Regions from separate parts of the Homo sapiens genome. Here all the other regions are linked to region 7. The links are contacts of gene promoters, found by promoter capture Hi-C in human tissues and cell types (Jung and others, 2019). All regions are on one chromosome and are shown on one strand. Each heading gives the region's core, a stretch centred on a gene start or on the middle of the fragment in contact. The rest is flanking DNA. Distances are from core to core; before and after follow the strand shown.

Region 1 (2,700 bases), core at 74-2,573, 770 kb before region 7:
TTCTGTCTTTCTCTAGCCAGGAAGTGGGCTTGTGATCCAAGCTTAATCAATCAGAATCTCTTTCCTGGAGTTTTGAGGGGCTTGGTGTTGATTCCATGAGCATGTGGCCAGATTCTGAAAAGAAGATCCCCATTGATATCGCAGTATAGTCATGAACGGCCACAATGGACTGGACCAGTGAGTTAAGGGTAACTTTTGCTTTACTTTGCCATTCGTTGGGCTGGGTTATTAAACTAGATTGACCCTAAATTCCTTTCACCTAGTGCTTCCTTTTTGGAAATCAGTAGGGATCATTCAGAAGAAGAATGTAAGCATAGACATGCTGACTGGATCAACATGGTATAATGGAAAGAGCTTGGGGTTGTACTGATTTTGGTATGCTTACTGGGCAGTTTCTTCCAGTCTAAAATTGGAAGTGTAACACCAGCTCCACAAGGTTTTTGGGAAATTTAAATCTAGAAGGCCCCATTTAATGCCCATGCCCATGAATGTCAGTTCTTTGCCCTTACCTACTTTCACTTCTCCTGCCCGAGCCCTACCACATACTGTCTTCATAAATAGTATGTTGCCAAGTTGGCTGGAAATTGTAAAATAATGGCAAAAATGTGCAATAACAACTCTGGAGAAAGAGATGAGATAGGGTTGGAAAGCTGATAAGTGAATCTTCAGCCACTTCCTCCTCCCTTCAGATAGCGTGGGTTTGGAGTGAAGTGTGGGCCGGAAATTTGACAATTGGCTAGATCTGTGGCTCGTGAACTCTGCCTGGCATGAACACTTCTATTTCAGCACATCTGTGATTGCCATATCACCAGCATTTGCAGAAATGGAGGATTAATTTTATTGTGCATTAGCTCAGCAGATCTGGTGACATAATATTGCACTACGAAGAAGGATTACTCACCAGTTTCTGGATGCTACATTTTTAGAAACTAACTCCACTTAACGATAAGTGTTGGATCTAACAACTTCCCCCTTTTCCCCACTCCCACTCTCCAATCACCCAACCAACAAATATTCCTTAATGTAAAAACCAGCTCTCATGGGACCAGATGGATACAATTTTTCTTCAGGAAAAAATTCTGGATATTTCCCCAAAGTAAAAATTTTATAATACTTCTTCATTTATTAAAAACAGATGTGCCATGTTTATAATATCACTCCAAGCCCCCCTTTTTTTGGTTTATGGAAAGCAATTTGGGAAGGTAAAATAATATAGCATTTGTGAGTCATTTCTGAAGAAAAAATGCAAAAACTGTACAGTAGTCTGCAAGCCAGACAGGGGATATGGTCATAAGGAAATATGGCTACATCCCAGGGCAAACAAAGAGGAGACTTTGTTTCTACTTCTGTCGTACATCTACTCAGGGTTTCGACATATCCTTTTTTCACCTATGACCTCCATCTGCAGAAAAAGAGACTCAGAGACAGGCTGTTAGTAAGGTCTAGTGGCTGGCAGAACTCAGTCGCACACTGCATCCTATAATCTTCCTACTTGCCACTAAGCCAGTACCATTTCCCTTACCTGTTGTCTTTTTTAAAGAACTTTTCCCCCATCCTCATCTAGGCTACCTCACAGAGCCTTCTTTTTCTCCAGGTAGCACACCTTAAAAACTATTCCTTCCTTTCTCTATAGCCTCTTTGTCCATTCTGTCATTTCTACTTGCTGATGTTTAACCAGCTGCTGGGCTACTGTGTCACTTAGGTAGCTGTATTTAAAGTCCATGGAGTGCGGAGTATACAGTGAGTAGGGCCCTGTGGACAAATGCAGAAATGAAATGTGCGTGTGCGTGTTCTTTATTGGGTGCTTATTGCATGCCAGGCACTGCCCTAAGTTAGTTTTTAGAGTTCGTTGTATTTAATTTTCACAATTTTCTATGCGGTATGAGTTTGGACAGACCTGCATTTAAACCCTGCTCTATCATTTACTTGTAAAAATATGTAAGCTTTAAGTAGGCAGTATCCATATTTTTATGGCTAATTCCTGTAATTTCTATTTGTATGGTTCAACAAAACAGCTTTATCTCTTATATAGCCAGGGAAGATTTTTAAAAAAATTATTAAAAATATTCTGTCAATATTCTTTGTATTTGAAGCTCTGATGGCAAAACTGGATATATGCCATATTCATTTTTTTAACAACATAAAGTACAAAGAAAGTGATAAAAAGTACACAAACTGCTCTAATTTAGTCTATGCAAGGAGCAGACAGTAAAATATAATGGTCTACTTATTCTTCTGTGATTGACAGCCAATCCTTGGAGCAATTTGCACTCTGATCAGATAGCAGGTTTTCTCCCATAACCTTGAGGTCCAAGTCTCTCTGCCCTTTATTGTGAAATTGTCTGCCCTTTGACCCTTTGAAAAGGTGGAGTCCCACATCTTCTAAAAGCCTTCCCTCAGTCCTGCACTGATGTGTACAGTAAATGACTGATTGTCTCCATTATATGACCATGGCAGGCACAGAGAAATACCTAACTCATTTTAGCAAAACTTATCCTAATTGGAACCATAATCAAAGATAACTGGAATACTCCAGAAACTTACCTGGAGACCTGGATTTGGTGTCTTTTGAAGTTTTGGTAAAATAAGTGGTACCTTCTTTATGCTCGTATTTTCTTTCCTTCCAATAGGGGAGTGAGGAAGAAAAAAAAAATTGAAAGGAAAGCTAAAGCATCTCTTCTTGCACAACCTTCCCTTCTC
Region 2 (2,745 bases), core at 210-2,709, 800 kb before region 7:
CATATAAACTTACGATGGCGTGAACGTCAGGCTAGATAGGAAGAGAGGGAAAGATTAATGGGAATAAATTATCAAGAGGCCAGGGTCTTGTGGTTATATCTGGAAATCATGCTGTGTGGGAAGACAGCCACTTCATCTAGTAATAGCTTTAGCCTTCCTGATTCTGACACTGTTTGTTCTCTTTGGAGTTCAGGATTTTGTGACATTTTATCAGGGATACAAAATCTGGCAAACTATGGAGTTAACTGAATTTTAAATATTGATTTCCAGCATGATTTTGCTTCATTTTTATTGGTTTTATAGGGCCAGTAAAATAATTGAGTTATGAATATTTGCCTGAACTGCATAGCAGAGGCATCAGATCTCTCTGACTTGACACTGCAGAGAGAGTGGGAGAGAATGCTGGAGTGAAGCCTCTACTAATCCCTGAGGATGTTGCTTTTTCCCCTGTGTCACAGCACTTCATATTTATGTCTCCATCACTTATCTGAAGGCTGACTTACAGCAGAATAGCATATATTCACATATCCCATTCCAAAGCATTTATTAAGTGCCTACTGTGAGGTGAGCACTGTCTTAGGCATGAACGATTCTGAGATGAGCAGTACAGAGTTCCAGCATCAAGTTTCTTACAGTCTACTAGAGGACACATGTAAGTAAAGAAATTACAAAATGGTGCCTACTAAACGCAATAGAATATTCAAACAGAAGTGGTATGGGAGAGAGACTAGTAAACTGCACAGGGGTTGGGGAGTGAGAAAAATCTTCCAACGAGGAAGTGACATATGAATTTTACATCTGATGGGATTTCCAAGCACACTTGATGAGTCTCATTCTCCCACACTGCAGCAAAGGGTGATCTGATCCATACAGCTGTAGCTCTTCACTAATGATATGAGCCAGCATCCATTGAGAAACCTCTATTCCAGACACTGTCAGGGTGCCACATTTATGATCTCATTAAATCCTTACAACTCTTTGAGGGTGAGTGCTCTCCATTTTATAGATGAAGAACATGAAGCTTAGAGAGTGAAGCTTGTGCAGGGTCATACGGTTGACAGGAGACAGTGCCAGGATTCTAACTCAGATGGGTTCGACCCTGGGCCCAAGCTCTTGCCCAAATAGTGTACATAATCAAGAGAGGCCTCGGGTACAGTACTTGGCACTTTAGACTTTTCACAGTGCTTTCACCTGTTTTGACTCATTTGAACCTCTCTTAAGCATCCCAGGGATGACACTGGCAGGGCATTATCATTCCATTTGAAGACAAGGAAAAATGAAGCTTTAGAGCAGAGAGGTCACACAGTCACACAGTTAGTAAGAGGGAGAGCTGGGCTAGGACTCAGGCTGTTTGACTTCTAGTGTAGTGCTGCTCCCTTCACTGCGGAATGAATGGAGAGTCGGCCACATGCATAGAAGCGATTGCTATGCTCCCCACATGCTGCCCTGCCTTCCACCACCCCATGATCCCACCACCAAGTTTCTGTAATTGATTTAAAAAATCCATAGAAGAGGCTGGGTGCTGTGGCTCACACCTGTAATCCCAGCACTTTGGGAGGCCGAGGTGTGCAGATCACCTGAGGTCAGAAGTTCGAGGCCAGCCTGACCAACATGGTGAAACCCCATATCTACTAAAAATACAAAATTAGCCAGGCGTGGTGGCACATGCCTGTAATCCCAGCTACTCGGGAGGCTGAGGCAGGAGAATTGCTTGAACCTGAGGGGCGGAGGTTGCAGTGAGCCGAGATTGAGCCATTGCACTCCAGCCTGGGCAACGAGAGCGAAACTCCATCTCAAAAAAAAAAAAAAAAATCCTTAGAAGATTTCTCTACACAGACATGCAGACATGCAGGGATGAGGGAGCAGGAAAGATGTCTTCTTTCCTGCACCTGGTAGGGATGGGAAAGACCTAACTTATATTCTTTCTCAAAAATTATTCTAAAGAAGGAGGAATGTAGGCTGTCATGAGTCTAACATGTCACTGAAGAAAATTAGATGTTCTTCAATTTTTATTTTAAAGGAGCAATAAGAGGTGCCATCTCTGCAGATGACACATCATGAGAACTGATAACAGTGTATCACTGAATGTCAATAAACCACAGGTTATTATCAAACAGATTTGGATGGTTAAAACATGGGCTGTAAATGATATTACCATGTAGGCTGAAAGATTAACCATACCCATTAGTCAATGAGGTGAGCCTTGGTCCTACCTTCAGTGGCAATATCTTTAAGGGTTTCCATAGACAAAACTACTTTCTCCTTGTCAAGCCAGACTCCTCCAGGGTTCAAGGTCTCCCCTTTTGTACTTCAGCAAAGAATTCCAAATAAACCTTCATTAGGAACAAACAAAAACTTTCTTCATGTGATTTAAACTGTTCACAGACTTTGAATGTTTAAATCTCACTCTTTTGAAAAAATGTTATCTTATTCGTTTCTTGAAAATTTAATAGCACTCAAAAATTTTTGCTCTAAGGAATATATGGAAAAAAAAAGACATATATGGGAGACCCAAACTTAATTTCTCTTTTACTATGACCTCAGGTTGAAGGCTGAGTTTAGTGAGATGCATTTCACAGATAGAAAAAAAAATATGAGAAAACTCTAAAGGAAATTCACCTTCTTGGAAAGGTAAACTAAAGCACAGATAAATTCACGATATCAAATACAATACAAGTGCTCAAGGGGATACGAAAAAGGCAGTATTGTAATAATATATGAGAAAAATGTTATAAATTGTGAATT
Region 3 (2,700 bases), core at 100-2,599, 710 kb before region 7:
AGGCTAGAGTGCAGTGGCACAATAATAGATTACTGCAGTTTTGAACTCTTGAGCTCAAGTCATCCTCCCACCTCTGCCTCTTGAGTAGCTGGGATTACAGGCACACGCCACTGTGACTGGTATGAAAAGAAAAATTTTTACATGAGGCAAATTAGGAAAGGAAGGCAAGAGTACATCTTGAAAACATTGTATATATATTATATGTCTCATATATTATTGATTATATAAATGTATATTACATACCCATCAGATATCCATATTTGAAAACAATCAAGGATGTTCTGGTTGGTTGTATAACAAGAGGAATCTGCACAGAATAAATGATAATGCTCATACTGCAACCCTAGCATGACAGACAAACATACAAACACACATACCTTTGTACATATAGGTAGATGGACATGTGAAAAAGCACAATGATATAGGGGTGATTTTAAAAGATACTCACACTGAAATTCCCCAGAAAGAAGAATAATATTAGAAAGTGGGAAAGAAAAGTAAAGCCCTTATAAAAGGTACATTAGCCAGGGTTCTTCAGAGGAACAGAACCAATAGGCTATAGATGGAGCGATAGGTAGGTAGGTAGGTAGGTAGATAGATAAATGGATAGATAGGTAGATAGATAGATTAAAAAAAATATTGTGAAGAATTGGCTTACATGATTTTGAAGGCTGGCAAGTCCCACAGTCTGCTGTCTGCAAGCTGGAGAGCCAGCAAAGCCAGTGGCGCAATTTCAGTCTCAGCCTGAGGGCCTGAGATCCAGGGGAGGCCGATGGTGTAAGACCCATTCAGAGTCTGAAGGCTTGAGAGCCGTGAGTGCTGATGTCCAAGAGAAGGAGAAGATGAGTGTTCCAGCTCAAGCACAGGCAGCAAATTCACCCTTTCTCCACCTTTTTGTTCTATTTAGGCCCTCAACAGACAAGGTCAAGTCCACTCACACTGGTGAGGATGATCTTTACTCAGTCTACCGATTCAAATTCTAATCTCTTCTGGAAACATCCTCATAGACACATCCAGAAATAATGTACCAGCTATCTGGGCTTTTCTTTGCCTAGTCAAGTTGACACGTAAAATTAACCACCACAAGTCCACTCCTTGTCACGTTGGTACCCACATGTCTTTTTGTAAATCATGCTTAATCTCCAAATACAGATAATAACAAAATCATTATTTTGCCTAACATGATACAACTATCTTGAATACAAGGGAAAAGGCGCTAATACTAATCCCTCCCCCAAAAGAGGAAGTGAAAGTTCTTGAGTGATGTTTATTCTTCCCCTGATATTCCTTAAATACAATAATATAAAAATAACAGTACTTAAATGCTGCCATAAAGTCAATACATCTTCTGTTATATAATAAGGAAATAAGAACAGAAAGAAAACAAAGATATCTGTTTAATGTGTGTGTATATATATATATATATATATATATATATATATATATGTATATACACAAGTGTATTCATAAAAAATAAGGAGAAAATTCTTATGATAATTAAAGTCTCATTTATGTAACTGGTCACATGATCATAGCTGGTATTTATAACTACCTTCTGCTACTATTCATTCAGTATTCCCCTTGCCTTCAGCAAGCATGTCAGCTGGTCATGGTTCTTTGCCTGATGAGGTGAACCAAACCATTCCTGAAGAATCTGGGCTATTAGTAGCCCTGCCTAGATTGGGCTGTTGTAGTGTTACACTGACCTTTACCACAGGGTGTGGTAATACTAAAAGACTCCCTAAGGGATCTCCTGTATACCAGACATACTTTTCCTTATTTTTGTGGAGGAGTAGTCCAATTTCCCCTTTGTAGCCTGGATCATTCACTCAGGCCAACACTGTAACTCCCTTCTTTTCCTGTTGATTCAGAGGCATAAAGAGCCCAAAGTAGCTGGGTGAAAATCTTAACATGCAGTTCAGTGGAATTATTTTGTTTCTTGCTGGAAGCATTCCTCCTTCCGGAACTAAGATCTCTAGGCCAGCAGAACATAAAGTCACTAGAATAGGAAGCAAAAGTTTGCTAGTGGGTCACAAGGGATAATAATGAGTGGTGACTCTTCCGTTTCCACTCTTTGATCCCTGAACCTATTAATTCTGTCTATTGGATAAACAGCATCATATACTGAATGCTGATTCATAGCATATATAACCTTCTGAAAAACTTTGCCCAAGTCCAGCAAGGTATTGTCTCCAAGGTGACACTTTAACTGAATCTTATTCTTTTTAAAATTTTTTTATTGTTATAGTTTAAGTTCTAGGGTACATGTGGACAACATGCAGGTTTGTTACATATGTATACATGTGCCATGTTGGTGTGCTGTACCAATTAAAACCGCCATTTACATTAGGTATATCTCCTAATGCTATCCCTCCTCCCTCCCCCAACCCCATGACAGGCTCCAGTATGTGATGTTTCCCACCCTGTGTCCAAGTGTTCTCATTTTTCAATTCCCACCTATGAGTGAGAACATGCGGTGTTTGGTTTTCTGTCCTTGGCGATAGTTTGCTCAGAATGATGGTTTACAGCTTCATCCATGTCCCTACAAAGGACATGAACTCAACGTTTTTTATGGCTGCATAGTATTGCATGGTGTATATGTGCCACATTTTCTTAATCCAGTCTATCATTGATGGACATTTGGGTTGGCTCCAAGTCTTTGCTATTGTGAATAGTGCCGTAATAAACATACGTGTGCAT
Region 4 (2,700 bases), core at 46-2,545, 590 kb before region 7:
ACTGTCTTCACAAATCAGTGACCTCAAGAAAGGAGTCTTTTTTTTCCACTTCCCAATAATTTATAAAGCATATTAAATTCCAATCTGTTCATTGATTTTCACATCAGATTAAAATAAATGGCTAGAAAGATTTTTACTGCCTTTGAAGAATGTGTTTGGGATTATCTCACTTGATTCATAAGCTAATGTGAATTATACATTGGGGACCCCCAAAAAGATATAGGCAGTTATCTTCTGGATAAATAAACTGGGGCATCCAGGAAAGACCTGCAGAAGAAACCCAGAGAACAAAGAAAACAGAGCAGGTATCCTGTAGGAGCCCCAAGCTAACATCCAGAGAGCACACCCCATGCAAGTGTGACTTGCAGTTGAACGGCTTTTTCTTCTTCTTTTATTTTACTTTAAGTTCTGGGATACATGTGCAGAATGTGCAGGTTTGTTACGTAAGTATACATGTGCCATAGTGGTTTGCTGCACCCATCAACCCGTCATCTAGGTTTTAAGGTCCACATGCATTAGGTATTTGCCTTAATGCTCTCCCTCCCCTGGACCCCCACCCACTGACACGCCCCAGTGTGTGATGTTCCCTTCCCTGTGTCCATGTGTTCTCATTGTTGAACTGCTTCTTATATGGGCAGTTCTGTGTGTTGTGCTCTGGGATGAATTACAGCTGGAATTTATTTACTTAAGTATGGTTAATGATTTTATAATATTTTGGATTATTTTATTAGTAACACTCTGGGCTCTCTCTAGTTGTGAAACTTGGCTTCCCTCTCTCAGGATTAACTGATCATTGCCTTAAATTCCTCTGTTTCTTCTAATTATTAAGGTGTGTGTGATGGAACTAGGCTAAAAAACACCAGCAGGCACCATGCATGGCCATGCATTAGGAGGTGTTGATGGTTAACAGCTAGGGAGGCTCTACATCTCAAGCCAGGAGAGTCCTCATTTAAATCTGTTGTTTGTGCCCAGTTATTAATGATGCCCTCTTTCTCTTTCAGAAGTTTCCTAGTTTAGACAATAAATTATATGGTCACCCTAACATCGGCTACCATGATTTACAAAATCTGAGTTGAGTCCTGAGAGGTCATCAAGGCCCAGAGACCAGACTTTAAATATTGGAAGCTTTAACAGCCAACCTCGCCACCCTTGCTCCAGGCCACAGCCTCTCCTTCAGGAGCTGCCCACTAGGAGTGCAAGCCAGGAGCCTCTCTTGCCAGAGCAGGCAGAATTTCTCCATCCTGAAGCCTAACAAGCCATAATGGTTTCTCAAAGGTCTAGGGTTTCCCACTGTAGCCAAAAGGGCAGATAGGGCTCATTCTCAGGGACATAGTATCTTATTAATCTCCCTATGTCTCTCATGCCTGCTATTGCTGCTCAGTGTTCTAGATGCAAAAACCTCTTGTCATCTAAGCCTTCGTACATCACCCCTGGCTCTGTGCTTTTGCTTCTCCACCTAGTCTCCCATGCTCCTGCCCTGATGCTTGTCTATCTCCCCAGGGTGATGGCCAGGCTCATGAAGGCAGGTACCACTCACCGAAATCCTTTGTAGCCCCAGCACCCTGCACCTAGAAGACACTCCATAATTGTTTATTAGTTATGCCAATGTTTATGAACCAAATATATCCCCCACCGTCTCATGCCCATGCCATTCTCCCCTTCCAGCTAATATAAAATGCCTATAGAAAAACATTATTCATTTTTGAAAAGCTTATATATTTTTTACATCTGTCTTCCATATCTTATCGTAAAAGGAACCAACGTTAAAAAAATTTTAAGTATTAAAACGCTCTGAAAGTTCATAAAGCTTCCTAAAGAAGCTAATATGAAAACATTTATGAATAATTTGAAAGTTGTATTTCATTTGATTAGACTGAAGACAAAGGCAGTGTCTTCAGGAAGGCCACTGACATACACACATACACACACTCTCTTTATATACATATACACATATTACTTGGAAAGGGAAGGAGGGCTAAGCAGATAGTCTTCTCTCAACACAGTGTGGCTTTGTTTGCCTTCCTGGCTACTTGCCACCTTGGAGTGCCCTGAGTCCTGAGGAGATGGGACCAAGGATAAATGCTTGATTGTAGATTCCTTAAGGCCAGGGTCTGATCGTTTATCATTTGTCTCTGTAGTAACTGAAATGTGGCAGGTAATCATTTGATAATCTTTCCTTAATAAAGAGGATGGTGGCAAGAAAGGCCCACAGTTTCCAGCACAGTCTGGGGATTTTTATATGAGGCATTCTGAGTGCTACAGGAATCAGTACAAAGGTGCTCTCAAGGAACATTCGATGGTGTAGTTTGGGATTGGCCCTATGGATTGTATCTTCCTGGAAGACCAGGGCATGGCCAGGGACTAGATCTTATTTGGAACAAGAAAAATTCCTACTTTTCTGTGGCACCTGACAGGGGCCAGACATGTGCTGGCCTTTTTCCCTACCTTACCCGAACTCAAGAGATTTCATTGCCAAAACACTAGGCTGTTTCCCTAAACCACCAGACTGACTGTGTTGTTCACTTTGCCTCTATCACCTTTCCCACCCACTAAAACACTTCTTCACAGGTCAGCCCAGGCATTGTGCATGGCAGAAGCCTCCACTAAGAATTCACCACCCCACCTCTTCCATGTTCTCATGCCAATTTGAGCGTAACTTATTAAAAGTGCTTATTTACTGTTTGTCTTCTCCAGAAACTA
Region 5 (2,721 bases), core at 118-2,617, 660 kb before region 7:
ATCTCTCTCTCTCTTCCCCGTTTCCTCTTCTACCCTCAGTTCTCCCAAATTAGATGAGTTTAACAATCCAGTAGCATAGTTTGGCTCTTTATGATACCAAGGTGTTTACTCGAGTTAGTTGGAGACGCTTTATTTCAATGCATATTTCAAACAACATTTCTCACAGAGTGTGTCAACACAAATAGGTGTAATACTTTGAATGTTCCTTCGTAGTCATTACCACATACTAAAACTTTGCCTGGTGAGTTCAAGCAAAACTACAGTAAGTTATTTTAGGTTAATATCACTGAATGAAAATGAAAGCTAGTGTTCCATTTTTTCTCTTTGATGCAGTTGTGTGAGATATTAATGTTTGCACAGTGATGTCTCTTTTCCTGTCACTATCTTCAGACACATTATTGTAAAACAAAAACAGCCTATTGATGAGTATTTAAAGTGAGTGGTGTTATCAGATACTTCTTCAATTAAATCTATATTTTTAAAGACATTTTTTCGGTGTTTGGGCCTTCTTGGCAGGGTTCCCTTCCATCATGCTATTACTTGTTTCTACTGCTAAAGGATTGCTTTGTGTGTCCACTGAGCCAATATACTTACAAAGGCAATAGATAACCCTTCTCTTCTTTTGTTTAATAAATGAAAAGTTCAAAACTTTTAGCTTCCAAAGAACCAAAAGGGCCAATACAGTATTTGATAGGCATAGAGTTAAACTTATCTAAGAAAAGAACAGTACAGTGGAGAGTATTTTATCATGTGTAATCATCATCAGGAGGAGAGGCTGGAAAAGTAGCAACTGTGAATGGCAGATCCTGAAGGTTTTGATAAGGCTTTATTTTATGGATTGGAGAACCAAATAGGGTTTTTACTCTATAGAGTGACATTAAATTTGAGGAGGTTAACACATGTGACGGTTATGGCAAATGGATTAGAAACAACATAGAAAGTGGTCTCAAAGTGTTTCCTAGACCAGAACCCACAGGTTAAAAATGTGAATTCTCAGACTCCTACACAGACCTCCTAAATCAGACCCTGGGGGAGTAGTCTATAGTCAATGTGTTCACAATCACTCTGGGTGATTCTGTTGCACACTAAATTTTGAGAATCACTAGACTGGAAGAAGGAAGACTTGACTTGAAGAAGAAACAATTCACAAACTGTCTAAATTACTCAGCATCTAGCACATAGTAGGTACTCAATACCTACTTTCTGAATAAATCAATAAAGCCAAAGGTGACAAATGCCTAAACTAGCAAAGGAAAGGTATGAGAACCAAGAAAGATTTTAGTTCCATTTGCAATTCAGTCAAGAGTAGAATTAGCTTTTAAATGAATGTGATTTTATAAATAATTTATAAAATTTTCTTTTATTTGACAATTTTCTTCCTTTCCTTGTAGTTGCTCATTCCAAACTCAAAATAAATAAAGTAGGAACTTTTGGTAGCTTGTACCTGCTTCTACAGAGGTCCTGGGTACATCTCTTCCACCTGAAAGAAATCACTTGGTTAAGTAATCAACAAGGTGGCATCAGTGTGGCAGGGAATGGTGGCTTAAGTTCTAAGACTATCAGAAAATATGATACTGGGAACTACACAGAGTCCAGGATGGAGACAGATTCTGAGTGGTTAGAGACAGATTCTGAGTGGTTGAAAACAGGAGGAGGGGTCAGGTATTCCTGAAGTTGCATTGGCATTGTTTCTTGAAGAAATTCTAACCTTGCAGCAGAAAGACCAGATATTCAATCATTAATGTCTTTGATTGCTAAAGGTAAATGTTCACTGAGAAAAAGGAAGATGTATCAGTGAGAGAGAGGAACCCCAAAATCTATTCTCTACCAGTCAGTATGCTGGAACTTTACAAACATATCTTATTTAGTCCTCATCACCTCACCACGTGATGTTAATATATCTGTCCTATAAGGTGGGGCCAGAGACAAAAGTTTGTCCAAGGTTAAAGAGCCACAAAGTGGTCACACTGGACTACAAACTCACACAGTCTGACTCCAAAGCCTGCATTTTATCTGTCGATATTCAATAAAATGCATGTGGTTATAGTTTCAGTAACTGTTCTGAAATATTTTATAAAGTATATATAATATTTAAAATAAATATTGAGGATATAGTTGTATGTAGCAAATAAATTGATAGTTTAAATAAAATATTTTAGACTTGAATGTAGGAGTTTCGAACAGAAAGACAATCTCCTGCTATACTGCATGTTGTCTGGGAAAACTGGAAATAAACTGCTGCATTTTGGTCCTCAGTAACTTTAGAGGGAATATAACTTTCCGTCCATCCTGTTTCTTTTTGTGTTTTCTTTATCAAATGTTTTAAAATATATTTGTATGTATTTCAATAGAAACTGTTTTTTCTTTTTGTCAGTGGGATAAAATCAATACATTCCTCTTTTTCCCCCTTATATTTGATGTGTATTTATCTTAAGCTCTGAAATGGCCTAAGTTACACAAGAGACATCCAATTATACTTCCTTAAAGGATGAGGTCTTACAGTGCTCGCATTTCCCCTTCCTCCTACATAGATGTTACTTGTGGGATCACTTGGCAACTCAGTCAAAGCAGTCTTGGATGCAAGAGCTTGATTTGAGCTGGTCTTTGATTGGCTTAGGATCTTAAAAATTGCATTTGTTTTCATTTCCAGTGCAAAAGGGTATCATAATATTTACCTTTTTTTGGGAGTGGTGGTGGTGGCAAGGAATGACTGAATTGGTT
Region 6 (2,700 bases), core at 141-2,640, 680 kb before region 7:
TGTTCACAGATGATCCAGACTTCCTGGAATATAGTAGATGCTCAATAAATAAATGAATATCCAGAGTCCAACAATGTTCCCAATTGTAATTGTTCTCAAGGTTAATCTGCCATCAGATTTTTTTTTGGGACTATAAAAATCATGCACAGCTTTTTGAGAATTAATTTCCCTACTTGTGAAATAGTGATTATGATTGAGTAGGCAGGTGCTTGAGACATTACTTGCTCTTTCTCCAAAACTTTAATGACAAAATCCTTCAAGCTAATACTTTATGCACAGAATTCTCCATTCTAAAATCAAAATGGTCTGGGACAGAGAGTAACTGCTTTTGTTTCTCACCAGCATTAAGATGATCAACAGCTGCTAGCACTGCTGTATATTTTAAGTCACAGTTTGGAAATGAAATCAGTGACTGGCATCACCAATCCTTATTATCCGATGAACTATTGAATGAAACTTGTTTTTTATTCCATAGTAGTGCTTTGGAAAGGAGGACAGGCAAAGATTCATCCTTATGGTTAAACAAAATTGCAAAATTGTCGCCTGTAAAAGACATCTTTTTCTATTAAGAGATGCAAAGGCCTGGAAAGTGGGGAGATGGTATTTGCCTAGCATATGATTCCTCTGGAAATATTTGGATCAGACATGGCTAAGAATTCACACCTGTAAAATTCTTCCTTCCTTCAATCCCTGTAACTAATTTATCATCCTATTGTTGTGTTTGAATTAGCAGAAGTAAACCACAAGGCAACTGCTTGTCAAGAGTGCTATATCCATCTGAGGAGGAAAGTATTAAATTAGACCGGTGACAGGAAAGAATGGGAGCTTCCCATGCAGACCTGGCTGCCTGAAATCTGTAAAAGTTGTCAGTTATTTAGAGGATTCTCAGCAATGACAGGAGAGAGGCAGAGGGGGAAGTATTCAGGTTGCATTTCTGGGCGGAGTTCCTTCTACTCTAAACCTAACACTCTGAGAGCTGAAACTTGGCCCCTTTGCGAGATTAGGCTTCCCAAATTAGCTGTCTTTGGTGACAGCAAAAATACCTGCCTGTCCCCTTAAGCAAGACTCTCCACCTGAATGAGAAACCAGAAGCATGGCCCAAGCCCAGAACAGGTGTTTAACGGGGAAGCTGAAAGGTAGCAGGCTTCCACATGCAGAACGTTTGAGTCCATTGCTGTGGGGATTTGGCTGCATGATAAGCTTTTATTACAGTTAAACAAAATTAAAGGCAGAGTCTATAATACTGGCACAGAAGCTAAAAGGGGCATATTTGCTGGCTCACTTGGGAATCCTAAGTTTTGTTACATTTTTAGAAAGTGGGCATCTTTAATTGCCGTCAAAACCTGTGGTGAGACATAATGTTTATTTGTTTGTCAAGATGTTTCCAAATGTATTGCTGTTATTCTTTTTTTAAAAAACTGTACTTCAGTATAAATTCTATTAGTTGTTCTAAATAATACGTGACATATTGGAGGCAACCTCACATTTATGGACTTATTTTATTCACAAAGTACCTATATGAGGTCGGTAGGCTGAGGAGCATTATGATTACCTATTTTATAGACGAGGAAGTTAAGGCGATATGGAGAAATGATCTTATGTCTCTTTTTCTGAAAGTTTTATTCTGAGAAAACAAGTAACATCCCACTAGAAAAGTACAGATTTTGTCACAAAGACAGATTATAAAATCACAGGAAAGAAGCTGTAATTTTTTTGCCACTTCTTCAACTTAAAGTGGATATCCACAGCATTCATTCTCACTTCCCTCATTGTTTTCCTTTACACTCACTGTACAATCTAAACATACAAATGTATTTGCATGCTGCTCATTCCCTGGTCCCTCTCCCCTTTAAAGTGTTAGCACCATCAGGGCAGGCACAGTGTGGCTTTGCTGCTGTTCCAGTACCCAGTAACCCTGCTTGGCACCTAATAGGTGCTTGAAAACGTCTCTTCAAGGAACAAATGCTTAAAGAGTAAACATAGCAATATATTTATATTTGAAAGTATCAAAAAGTCAGAATATGGAGAAGTTTGGGAAGAATTAGTCCAGGTGGAAAAGAAATAAATCCTCTCCATTTGCTTGAGACAATTACAACTGTATAAACAATTATACATATCTCTCTTTTTTTCTTTTTTGACTTTGCCACTATATGTAAAACAAGGACTAGGAGCAGGGGGTATGCAGGCAATGCTGGCAGTTCTTAAGGAGTTATAAGCAGGAAGATAAGAGCTGTCTTGTGAGGAGTTATTATGTGGGGCCTTACACAGGGGCTTTGAATGTCCTGAAAAGTCCCAAAGTTGTGTACAGGCTTAGGTGAAGAGATTCAAGGTGAATTTAAGGAAACATCCTATCTTAACTCGAGTGTGAAAAGAAGCCTTGGTGGGTTGTAAAGAGTCATTAACAGGAGGTACGTGAGGAACGTGTTCAGTAGAAGACTAACAGGAAGCTTGTAGATTAGGAGTCTGCTCTCAGCTCTTCCCTGGACTGGCAGTGTAGCCTTGGTAAAGTCACTGAGCTACTCTGGGCCATCATTTCAGAGTTTGAATTAGAAAAGAGATTTTCCAGCTCTAAAAATCCATGCTGTTTTTACTCCTCCAAGTCTTGCTCTATGTTCTGTATTCTTTCTAGAAAAAGAGTCCTTATATATTTAATATTTGCACTTCACTGTTTTAATAAAAGTTGTTTTCGTGGGGGAAAAA
Region 7 (2,796 bases), core at 16-2,515:
ACATGCTGATCATGTCCCGGAGGTCCCCGGCCTGGCAGGGCGCCCTGGAGTGGGAGGAAGAGGTAACCACAGGGGGGCTGGAGCTGGCCTCGGACTTGACCACCGAACCCATGGAGCCAAGAGCCATGCCAGGGGTGCCCTGCTGCGAGTAGGACATGCTGTAGGTGGGCGAGCCGTTCATGTAGGTCTGCGAGCTGGTCATGGAGTTGTACTGCAGGGCGCTCACGTCGTAGCGGTGCATGGGCTGCATCTGCGCTGCGCCGTGCGCATTGAGGCCCGGGTGCTGCGGGTAGCCCAGCTGGTCCTGCATCATGCTGTAGCTGCCGTTGCTCCAGCCGTTCATGTGCGCGTAACTGTCCATGCGCTGGTTCACGCCCGCGCCCAGGCCGGCGCCCACCCCGACCCCGCTCGCCATGCTATTGCCGCCGGGGGCCAGCAGCCCGCCGGGCAGCGTGTACTTATCCTTCTTCATGAGCGTCTTGGTTTTCCGCCGGGGCCGGTATTTATAATCCGGGTGCTCCTTCATGTGCAGCGCTCGCAGCCGCTTAGCCTCGTCGATGAACGGCCGCTTCTCCGTCTCCGACAAAAGTTTCCACTCGGCGCCCAGGCGCTTGCTGATCTCCGAGTTGTGCATCTTGGGGTTCTCCTGGGCCATCTTGCGCCGCTGCCCGCGGGACCACACCATGAAGGCATTCATGGGCCGCTTGACGCGGTCCGGGCTGTTTTTCTGGTTGCCGCCGGCCGCCGCCGCGGTGGAGTTGCCGCCGCCGCCCCCCGAAGTTTGCTGCGGGCCCGGCGGCTTCAGCTCCGTCTCCATCATGTTGTACATGCGGGCGCTGTGCGCGGGCCCGGCCCGCCGGCGGCCGCCGACCCTCGGCCCGGCCGGGACTTTGGGGGGCCCGCGGGCGGGGGGAGAGGAGGAGGGGAGGCGGGCGGGGGTGTCGGGAGCGCAGGGCTCCGCGAGGAAAATCAGGCGAAGAATAATTTGGGGGAAAAAAAGAGAGAGGCAAACTGGAATCAGGATCAAAAAAAGCGCTTCCCTCCTCCTCTGGCCGATCCTGCCGCCGCCGATGATTGTTATTATTATTTTTTGGAAAGGCTTAAGCCTGGGGCTCAAACTTCTCTCCCTTTCTTTCTCTCTCCTCTTCTTTCTCTCAGTCCTAGTCTTAAAGAGGCAGCAAACTACTTTCCCCCTTTTGCAAACACTCTCTTCTCTGCCTTGACAACTCCTGATACTTTTTTGAACAAGTTAATAGACAACCATCCATGTGACGGGGGCTGTCAGGGAATAAATGGGTTTCTAGCGACCAATCAGCGCGCGGCGGCTCCTCCACTCGAGCCCAGCCTCGCTGCCGGGTTTTGCATGAAAGGGGGCGGGGCCTCCCGCGCCGCCGGCCGCGCGGGGGAGGCCGGGGGAGGAGGGGGCAGGCGAGGAGGGGGAGGAGGCTCCCAGAGCCAGCCTGCCAGCCACTGAGAAACCTTTGTATCCCCTCTCGCAGCAACAGGTCACACCACACGCCTTTTCGAAGGAAGTGGGTAAACAGCACTAAGACTACGTGGGTTTTTTTTTCTTTAAACTTAATATTGATTTACTTTTTGGTGCAGGGTACTTAAATGAGGATGGGACGCGGGAAGCAGCTAAGGTGCGGGGGTGGGGCAGGGCACAGTGGGTGGCTCAGGGCGGCTGTCCAACTCGTATTTCTGGAAACAGCCAGTGCAGGAGTTGGTGTGTCATTGTTCTCCCGCTCATCCACAGCACTCCCCCCCAACTCCAGCCCCTCTGGTGCCGCTCCCGTACTGCGCTCTTCCGCTCTCCTCTCTTACCTTACAGGTGCCAACACTCTCTCACGCCCTTCTCACAGTCCCGACTAGAAGTTAGGAGACCCAAACCTCTGTCCTCAAAACCTTCCTTGCTTCCACGTAACTTGCTCTGTTCTTAAAAATAAATCCTGCTCGGACCATAAGGCAGACTCTAGAGCTGAGAACCAGCAGGCCTTGGTAAGCTGCCATCTCCCTGTCCAACTCAGCTCTTTGGCCCAGGAAACTGCAGCTCTTCCTCTTAGCCCCAGCCACATCTCCCACTAGACTGTCTTCATTCAACCGTAGCAAAGGGGATGCTTCTACTGTCTGCCCCCACTCCCCATTCCCATCCCATGCCTCCCCGTAAGAAGGGTTTCGGTCGTGCGGCTTTCAAATGGGGGCTGGGGAAAGACACAGACGGAAGGGCGCTCAAAAGTGCAGGCGATGGGGGAGGGTGATTTCAACTTCCTGGCATCCCACGGCACTGTATGGAGGTGGCTTTTGGGCCGCAGTCACAAACTCCCTCCCACGCAGAGTTCCCAGGACTCCAGCAGAACCAGCCCTGGCATTTTCCCCGTAGATTTCCATTGTGGTGGCCGCAAAGCCCAGGCCGCGCAAGGCTGGGGCTGCGCCGCAAAGGGGCTCAAGGCCTGGGAGGCGGGGTCGATGCTCTCCAGGCACAGGTGCAGGCAGCGCACACTGGGAGAAGGCGGCCGGGACTGGGGAAGGGGGAGCCCAGCAAGGCCCGGGTTAGAGGAGGATGAGATGGGGGCGGGGGTAGGGGCTCAGGAATCTTGCCCGCCCAGGACCCAAGAGGGTAATTTTAGCCGCTCTCCCATTGTCCCGACGTAAAGATTTCAATAGGTAGGCGCTCAATGCGGAGGGCAATGGCAGCACGTCCGTTACAAATAGGTAGTTTTGTTTCTCTTGTTGTCGCTACACGGAGTCAAACAAAGCCTCGTCTAAGTTTCCTTCCACTCTCTTGTTGGGATCTTT

The links. Contacts are between HindIII fragments. The study calls those that stand out against the background at their distance.
Region 1: a fragment that was not itself captured here is called in contact with the fragment with the promoter of SOX2 in region 7 in 2 of the 25 tissues and cell types used here (dorsolateral prefrontal cortex and thymus).
Region 2: a fragment that was not itself captured here is called in contact with the fragment with the promoter of SOX2 in region 7 in 1 of the 25 tissues and cell types used here (lymphoblastoid cells).
Region 3: a fragment that was not itself captured here is called in contact with the fragment with the promoter of SOX2 in region 7 in 1 of the 25 tissues and cell types used here (lymphoblastoid cells).
Region 4: a fragment that was not itself captured here is called in contact with the fragment with the promoter of SOX2 in region 7 in 3 of the 25 tissues and cell types used here (dorsolateral prefrontal cortex, hippocampus and lymphoblastoid cells).
Region 5: a fragment that was not itself captured here is called in contact with the fragment with the promoter of SOX2 in region 7 in 1 of the 25 tissues and cell types used here (lymphoblastoid cells).
Region 6: a contact is called between a fragment that was not itself captured here and the fragment with the promoter of SOX2 in region 7, in 2 of the 25 tissues and cell types used here (dorsolateral prefrontal cortex and lymphoblastoid cells).

What each region holds. Positions count from the first base shown.
Region 1 is chr3:182,478,147-182,480,846 of GRCh38, reverse strand. The region is part of intron 1 of LINC01994 (long intergenic non-protein coding RNA 1994); the gene reads left to right. Among named protein-coding and RNA genes, the nearest start is that of LINC01994, 6.9 kb to the left of the region's middle. RefSeq lists a silencer at 532-826. The HindIII fragment of the contact is 3,538 bases long and covers 1-2,700 here.
Region 2 is chr3:182,512,088-182,514,832 of GRCh38, reverse strand. No RefSeq gene overlaps it. Among named protein-coding and RNA genes, the nearest start is that of LINC01995, 6.3 kb to the right of the region's middle. The HindIII fragment of the contact is 5,075 bases long and covers 1-2,745 here.
Region 3 is chr3:182,419,905-182,422,604 of GRCh38, reverse strand. No RefSeq gene overlaps it. Among named protein-coding and RNA genes, the nearest start is that of LINC01994, 65 kb to the left of the region's middle. The HindIII fragment of the contact is 6,103 bases long and covers 1-2,700 here.
Region 4 is chr3:182,302,682-182,305,381 of GRCh38, reverse strand. No RefSeq gene overlaps it. Among named protein-coding and RNA genes, the nearest start is that of LINC01994, 180 kb to the left of the region's middle. The HindIII fragment of the contact is 3,492 bases long and covers 1-2,700 here.
Region 5 is chr3:182,366,877-182,369,597 of GRCh38, reverse strand. No RefSeq gene overlaps it. Among named protein-coding and RNA genes, the nearest start is that of LINC01994, 120 kb to the left of the region's middle. The HindIII fragment of the contact is 5,801 bases long and covers 1-2,721 here.
Region 6 is chr3:182,392,472-182,395,171 of GRCh38, reverse strand. No RefSeq gene overlaps it. Among named protein-coding and RNA genes, the nearest start is that of LINC01994, 93 kb to the left of the region's middle. The HindIII fragment of the contact is 3,745 bases long and covers 1-2,700 here.
Region 7 is chr3:181,710,394-181,713,189 of GRCh38, reverse strand. It overlaps SOX2 (SRY-box transcription factor 2), which reads right to left and starts at 1,265. Exons shown (of 1, transcript NM_003106.4): 1 at 1-1,265. The coding sequence starts at 829. All of the region lies in intron 6 of SOX2-OT (SOX2 overlapping transcript), which reads right to left. RefSeq lists enhancers at 1-275, 276-1,129, 1,130-1,982, 1,983-2,796, a silencer at 1,365-1,424 and a promoter at 1,004-2,037. The HindIII fragment of the contact is 19,833 bases long and covers 1-2,796 here.